Regions from separate parts of the Homo sapiens genome. Here region 2 is linked to region 1. Evidence: promoter capture Hi-C in human tissues and cell types (Jung and others, 2019). All regions are on one chromosome and are shown on one strand. Each heading gives the region's core, a stretch centred on a gene start or on the middle of the fragment in contact. The rest is flanking DNA. Distances are from core to core; before and after follow the strand shown.

Region 1 (3,985 bases), core at 1,091-3,590:
CGGTGTTTAGCTTCGCTTTAACCCAATTAAGCTGCACAGTGAGCCCCGAAGATGCGCCACCTGCGCGCCTGGCTCCAGCCAGGCCCGACCGGCATCCCTCGCAGGCCCGCGTCCTTCCCGTTGGACCCACTTAAGGTCCCCCGAACAGCCCTGGGGCCTCCCCGTCCTCGGCTGTCTCACGTCCTTGACAACCAAGGGTGTTCTGCAGGTGGCCCAAGAAGGCAAGGGGCGAGGTCTTGGGGCAAGCATCTCTGGCCTGAACCCAAGGGAGAGAGCGCAGGGCGCAGGGGCCCGCGGCTGGGGCTTGGCTGCGACCACACCTGGGCCGGACGTGGGCGGTGCAGGCTGAGGGGTGCGTGGGCAGACCGTGGTCTGGAGCAGACGTGGAGAGTAAGCCGGGACACCAAGTAAGGTTTTCAAATAAGCTCACGCAGAAATAAAGCGTAGCGATCTTGAGCCCAGAGAGGAAAGTAAGAGGGCACGGGAATGCGGAGCAGCGAGAGAGAGGCGGCGAGCGGACGGCACAGGGCCACACGCGCCGGGTGAGGGCAGAAGGCGGCGTTTCCCCAGAGACCACTGCACATCCTCGCCGTCGTGGCTGCAGGTTCTCCGGCTCTGATGGGTCTCCCCTCCAACTGCCAAAAGGTAGTGGTGCATTCACCCGCGATGACGGCAAAGTGGGGAGGGGTTTTTTGGGTGTTCCCAGACCCTGCTCTTAAGGGGATGGAAGGTTCTTGGGAAATAGAGTAGCTGGGTGCCACGCACCCCAATGTATACTATTTTCAGCTAAATTGGAATCTATCACTGTTGGATAAGGAGAAATTAAATAATAGGTGGTTTTGTGATGCTGTGCCTGTGCAAAACAAAACACACAAACAAAAATCAAAAGCTTAAGTAGCAAGTGGGAGCCCTGAAGAATATCTTGTTAAAAGTGACTCTGAAAGTGTCTACAAACATGTTACCGGGAGTTATAGGATTTGACGGGAAATATTCTTAATTGGAAAGACGTGGCATCTAAATTAAAGGTAGACAATTAAAAAAATCCACCTAGTTTTAAAAACCACAACGTAACCACTAAGTAGTATTTCTTTAGTTTCCTGTACTTTGAGGACACAACTGGACCACCAACTAGAAAAAAAAATTCCTCCTCCTGTTTCCAGGTTCCAAAATTCAGAAATGAAATGATTTATTTCATTTTTGTTTTCAAAATGATGTTTAAATCCAAAAAACCCCCCAGATAACTGCAAGTTAATTTTCTTTGCAAATGTTAACCATTTTCCCTTAATTAAATCACACGAAATAGTATAAAATTAGAAGTCTACTGCCAGGTCACCACTTAAGGACACTTAAGACAGGAGATATATCCTTAATTATACATCTGTAAACAAGCCAGATACCCCAAACCTTCAATTTTTCGGGATAGTTATCTGTGAGGAAGCTTGATCTCTATGATCTCACCTGAATTTTATGTACTAAAATACAGGTCACTATGAAATAACGCTAAAGTACTCTGTCCATCCCACAGACAATTTATTTTTCAAATGTTTCTATAAGTGCATATATAGCGTTGTGTCCTGCTTGTAATGCTGGGCAAGTCCACCAAAGTGCAAAGACTGCATCTGCTGGGGCAGAGGGATGTACGAAATATTTTTTAAATATCCTAACTTAAACAGGGGTAGAACATCTCACACACTCAGCAATAATTTTCAGATTCAACAAATGGAGAAAAGAAAAAAACATAAGTAAAAAAAGAGCATACTACCTCCATAACGTTTCAAAAAATCATTTTAACATATAGGAACATCCAGAATGAGAAAATTACACAGGTACTCCTCCATCTAAAGCCAACTTCCATATGCCAGTAGTCTGCATGAAAGAACAAACTTTCAACCTGCATTTAAGAAGACCCCAAGGATTAACAGACGTTAATTATCTTACTCTAAATGCAAGTTAGTGATTTTGTTTTAGAAAACCCCGTCAAGATCACTAATTGATGGATGCCCATTAATACACCTGTATTTGCATTTCAGCGGTAAAAGACAAGCAGGTTTTCGGCACAGAAGAGAGCCGCTTTGCCAAGTCTTTTCAAAACGTCAATATGCTTCAAGTAATACCAAAGCTGAGAGATTCCTCTTGATTTCCAAACTGTCTAGGTGGCCTGAGTGGTTTTCCGCCGGCAGCAGCCTCCTACCTTTAGTTTGTGTGCCTATATCCATGAGTGGGGATTAATTAGCCGGGTTGGAGCTGAAGGAGGCTGTCGTGACGAGCCCAGTGGCGATTGGCCGCCCGCCTGCCTGGCCCTGCCTTTATAATTTCCACACGAGTGCATCTGGGCTCTTAGACAAACCAACAGCAGCTTCTTCTGACATATACACACGCACACTCACCCCGGACACACACTCAGCACACTTTTCCTCCATTTGATTAACAGTGCTGCACACACAATGATTACGGGAAAGCGCAAATAAATACGGAAAGGGGTGCTTATTTTGACTACTGGAAGAGCTTTGCTGGGTCTCAGCGCAACTTTTGTTTTTTATTCCTGAGAAGGTGATCTCTCCATGCGGTTCTCTCACACAAGGATTCTTTAAAAGAGGAAGAGAGACAAGCAGAGGGGGGAGGACAGTCTTTCACTTTAAGAACGGCTGGGCTCAAAGATAAAAGGAAGGGAAAAGCAGCAGCAGCAGCAGCAGCAGCAGCAGCAGCAGCAGCAGCAGCAGCAGCAGCAGCAGGGAAACCAACGCTGCAGCACTTCCGAAAGGCATTTTTGATCCATTTCTGAGTGTTGCGGCCCGTTTCTCCACCGAAGTTGGCTCCAGCTCTAGCAGCCGCATTGGATCCCACAGCTTACTGCGAGACTCCGGTGTACAATCCGGATCTCTGCCCCAACATGATTGCGGCCCAGGCCAAGCTGGTCTACCATCTGAATAAATACTACAACGAAAAATGCCAAGCCAGGAAAGCTGCCATTGCCAAAACTATCCGGGAAGTCTGCAAAGTAGTTTCCGACGTACTGAAGGAAGTGGAAGTGCAGGAGCCGCGGTTCATCAGCTCTCTCAACGAGATGGACAATCGCTACGAGGGCCTCGAGGTCATCTCCCCCACCGAATTTGAAGTGGTGCTTTATCTCAACCAAATGGGGGTGTTCAACTTCGTGGACGATGGCTCACTGCCCGGCTGCGCGGTGCTGAAGTTGAGCGACGGGCGCAAGAGGAGCATGTCCCTCTGGGTGGAATTCATTACCGCCTCCGGCTACCTCTCGGCGCGCAAAATCCGGTCCAGGTTTCAGACGCTGGTGGCTCAAGCGGTAGACAAATGTAGCTACCGGGATGTGGTAAAGATGGTGGCAGACACCAGCGAAGTGAAACTGAGAATCCGAGATAGGTACGTGGTGCAGATCACGCCGGCCTTTAAATGCACCGGGATCTGGCCGAGGAGTGCTGCCCACTGGCCACTTCCCCACATCCCCTGGCCGGGACCCAACCGGGTGGCGGAGGTCAAGGCGGAAGGTTTCAATCTCTTGTCCAAGGAGTGCCACTCCTTGGCCGGCAAGCAGAGCTCGGCGGAGAGCGACGCCTGGGTGCTGCAGTTCGCGGAGGCAGAGAACAGACTGCAGATGGGGGGCTGCAGAAAGAAGTGCCTCTCCATCCTCAAAACCTTAAGGGATCGTCACCTTGAACTGCCGGGCCAGCCCTTGAACAATTACCATATGAAGACTCTGGTTTCCTACGAGTGTGAAAAGCATCCCCGAGAGTCGGACTGGGACGAGTCTTGCCTGGGTGATCGGCTGAACGGGATTTTGCTGCAACTTATCTCCTGCCTGCAGTGCCGGCGGTGTCCCCACTACTTTCTACCGAACTTAGATCTGTTTCAAGGCAAACCTCACTCAGCTCTGGAAAACGCTGCCAAACAAACGTGGCGACTGGCAAGAGAGATCCTGACCAACCCGAAAAGTTTGGAAAAACTTTAGAGGATGATTTAATCA
Region 2 (3,985 bases), core at 389-2,888, 59 kb before region 1:
GAAATATCTTCCCTCCCCTATTTGCCAAGTTCACTTCTACTCATCTTCAAGGTCTCTTTTTGCTTCTATTTTTGCCACTGACCTCCCTAGCTAGGTAAAATCACCCTATCTTACGCTCTCATAGCACCTATGAGACAAGTTCTCTTCACAGCACTTACCGCAAATGTAATTTTGCAAATTCATTGTATAATTTCATTTTTAATGTAATCTCCTCCACTAGACTATAAGCTTTTTGACCATTTTTTTTCTTCTCATTACTGTATCTCTATTACTTAGCACAATGCCTGGTATGTTGTCGAAACTCAGTAAAAAATCTGTTGAATGATTGAATTAAAGGGTATATATAGAGTCTGATTTCTGATTTTGTTCTTCTGATTAACTTCTATTAATGATTAAGCTAGGAGACCCTGTATATATACAGGGTCTATATATAGTTATTCTCTAGTAGCAGAAGTATAAACAGAGTAATTGGTGCTATGTCAATGGGTGTCTATGATTGAGGGAGACAGAAAAAATGTGGTTTATTGGAGCTGAAAAAAATTCCAGTTTTTCAGAAGGCCTGATCAAAATTTACCATTTGTATTTTATTATGCTTTCTTAAAAGAAACTCTATAGTAGACACTACTGCTTACTTACTCAGAAACCATTCCACTCCTCCTATTCCAACCCTATCCCCCTGCCCCATTTCCCTGATTGACACAACTCCAATCATGTTCAGGTATTGACTTCTCTTACATCACTTCCAAGCCAGGACACACTGACCCCCTGGCCAGTTCCAGGGGTATATCGGATTTAGAAAAGTTTCCACATGCTGTGAGGGAGCCAATGGAAGAGATGCTCTCTCATTCCTTTGAATATTTCTGAGCTTATGTTGATTTTTTGAAGTGTTGGAGCCACATTGCTATCAGCGTAAGAATTAGGACAAACCAAGGATCACTGAGTAAAGACAGGCAATGCACCTGGGTTTTTGACAGCATCCACGACTAGCTGAATCAACCTTGGAGACCACCAGAATCCAGGACTGACTGTCTGTCTGTCTGTCTATCTATCTATCTATCTATCTATCATCTATCTATTTTTTACGAAGCCAGTTTACAGTGTCTGTTACTTGCAGCTGACAATTTTCTAATATAAAGTGTTATTATCAGATGTTACTTTCATGTCTCTGTTCTTTGAAGAAGGAAAAAAACAGGACCAATACACACACATATATAGGAACTCTCTGTATTAGCTGTTCAATTTTCTGTAAACTTAAACTGTTCTAAAAAAGTAAAGTCTATTGAAATTAAAAAAAAACAAATGCAGATATCAAACATTTCCACACTTTATGTTCTAGAATAACTTCTCCTCCTTGTCTACCTGGTAAATTTCTATGATATATTAAAAACTTACTGCTCAAAAAAGCATTTATTCAAAAAATATTTACCATTTATCAAGTATCTGCCAGGTAGGTAGTAGGCTCATCAGGGACCAGAAAGAAAAGATGAATGTGAATTATTTTTCAGGTTTTAAAGACTTTTCTTTTTCAGTGACAATTAGCAACTGAAAGCTATCATAAAATATGGGTTCCGAGTTTGTGAAGCATATTTTCACTTGAAAACCCAAGTGCCCCTGGGTATTCACAGGTGCATGCTTGGGGTTCATGAGAATTTATTTTTCTTTCTCTTAAAGCTACAGCTCCCTCAGCATCACCGTCTCCTGAAGAGAAGTGGTAGAATGAAACATAACCTCATGCAGGCAAACTTGCATTTTGGAAGTCCTTTTGATTGGGTCTATTTTACTGTGTATCTACCTAAGGCAGTATGAATGTTACCCTTGCCACATTCCCTCATCCTACCAGTATGTAGCAATAAGTATGTACTTTACTAGCACTTAGTTTTGTAGACTAAAGTAATTTTTTATATATCTGTATGCCATGCTGTAGTGGAAAGAACTTGGACTTGGAGGATGACACACAGACTCTAAAGTTTGTATAACTTCAGGCAAGTTTCCCAATACACTTGTGACAGTTTCCCTTATATAAAATGGGACAAATTACATCTACTTTGCAGGGTTGCTGTGAGTATTAAATGAAATAACACAGCAAGTATCAAGTGGGGAGGTTAGCAGAAAGGCTGTGCTACATAGATGTGTTGAACAAATGAATTCACGATCCTCCCCTACCCAGACCTTAGTGAACCCTCAGTCAGGAGTGATGGGAGCAGTCTCTGCCTTGACCCCAGCCCAGATCCTTTTCAGTGTACTTTATTCTCTGATCCAGTCTCTGGTTCTGTGTGTCACATTGCTCCAATCAGCTCTGATTATTTCCTGGAATTTGTTCTTATTTACCACTTACTAAACGGTTTTGCGTGTTCTGTCTTCTGCATTTGAAGTTTAACATAAAAAACAAAACAAAACAAAACTAAACAAAAAACACCTTAAAGCACCTTCATGCTTCAACTACACAATGCACCTACTGAATTTCCCATGGTGTTTTTGCTTCTGCCGCCAGTTTTCTACATTACAGGAAAATTAGCTCTTCAAGAAATGCAACTCAGTTTAACTGTAAATAGCCCAGTAAATGGCCCTTGCTGGCAAATGAGTACCTTTCACAAATATCTATAATTGGGTAAAAAGAGGATTTAGAGATTACCCGACTTGCAGGCAACGAAAACAGTATTTCCAGGGTTAAATATAACCAAAAAGTTTCTTCTGCATTTCTGGAATGCCCCAGGATTATTTTTTTCTCTTCTGCTGAGTTTTTATTCTTTTTTTGTAAAGCTATTTGAAGCAAAATACTAGTTTGCTGAAAATTTGCCTTTTATTTGTTTCATTTGAATATCATGAGCAAGTTCTCTGATCCTAGGCAAAGCCTGTTGGCATAACACATAATTTGTTCATCAAAAAAAATTCAGTCGGCATGTACTAGGATCCAGATATTGTGCTAGGTGATGGGACACATTGTGAACAAGACAGAGACGGCCCCTCCTTTCATGGAGCCCAGCTTTTCTATTTGTGTCTTTATCTGTAAGATTGATAGGATGATTCTATTTTACTGGGTTGTTGAAAGAATTAAATGAGCTACGGTATGTAAAGTTCTTATCTCAGGTGTTTCCACTCCAAGTACAGAGGTCACATGTCTACAGGCAAGAGGCTGTCCAGAGCACTCACTGCAGAAAGGATGAACTGGAATGGGGATTTTAACTTAGCCCTCAATAGATGGCAGCTCTAATGAGGAATGTGATGCCATTGAGAGCACTGGAGGAAGGTGGTTATAAGATTAAAACTGCATTTGCAAAGAGCACTCTGGAAGCAGTATGGAGAATGACTTGGAATGAGGCTAAACTAGAAATCTGAATGAAGCCAGTAGGAAGTAGAGGAAGTCTGACTTAAGAGAGTTGCAGCAGGTAGGAAGAGGGAAGGAAGAACAGACAGTTCTGAGACAGATAGGGCTAGAGTGTTTTGTTTTGTGCTGAGGTAAAGGTATGAAAGGAGTCTCAAGGGTTTCTGGCTCCAGTGGCTAGGAGTTTTCTGCCATTTCCTAGGTTTAGGATTACTGGCAGATTTACGAGTATTATGAAAAAGAAAAGAAGTTCAGTCCAGACTTTAGATACGGCAATCACTCTGTTTGTTATCACTCACATAAACATGAACTTCCACAAAGAAAATGTGTTACCAATAAAAACAATTAACCTATCTACACCTGACAACTTTAAAGGAATGATAACCAGTGAATAAAATATAAATTAAAATATCTAGTGTTATTAAAACTTTGCTCTCCACTGATAACATAAATAAACCTAATATTATTTTCTCCATATATAGAGGTTATTTCTGTGTTTCAGTCAAAACCCCACCTTAATGTGGAATGTTTTCCCTGGTGCTCAGTATAGTGTGTGGCACACAGCAAGTACTCAATGAATGCAGCTGCCTGGAGTGCCAGTGTATGCTTCTCCAATATGCATGTTTAGTAAATAAATAAAAATATATACTAGAGACATCCACA

Evidence for each region. The method cuts DNA at HindIII sites, captures the fragments that hold promoters and counts their contacts. A contact is called where the count stands out against the background at its distance.
Region 2: a contact is called between a fragment that was not itself captured here and the fragment with the promoter of MAB21L1 in region 1, in 1 of the 25 tissues and cell types used here (H1 embryonic stem cells).

The regions. Positions count from the first base shown.
Region 1 is chr13:35,475,044-35,479,028 of GRCh38, reverse strand. It overlaps MAB21L1 (mab-21 like 1), which reads left to right and starts at 2,340. Exons shown (of 1, transcript NM_005584.5): 1 at 2,340-3,985. The coding sequence starts at 2,891. The coding sequence ends at 3,970. The region is part of intron 41 of NBEA (neurobeachin); the gene reads right to left. RefSeq lists enhancers at 1-254, 2,768-3,764. The HindIII fragment of the contact is 6,873 bases long and covers 1,165-3,985 here.
Region 2 is chr13:35,533,728-35,537,712 of GRCh38, reverse strand. The region is part of intron 41 of NBEA (neurobeachin); the gene reads right to left. Among named protein-coding and RNA genes, the nearest start is that of MAB21L1, 59 kb to the right of the region's middle. The HindIII fragment of the contact is 7,621 bases long and covers 1-3,985 here.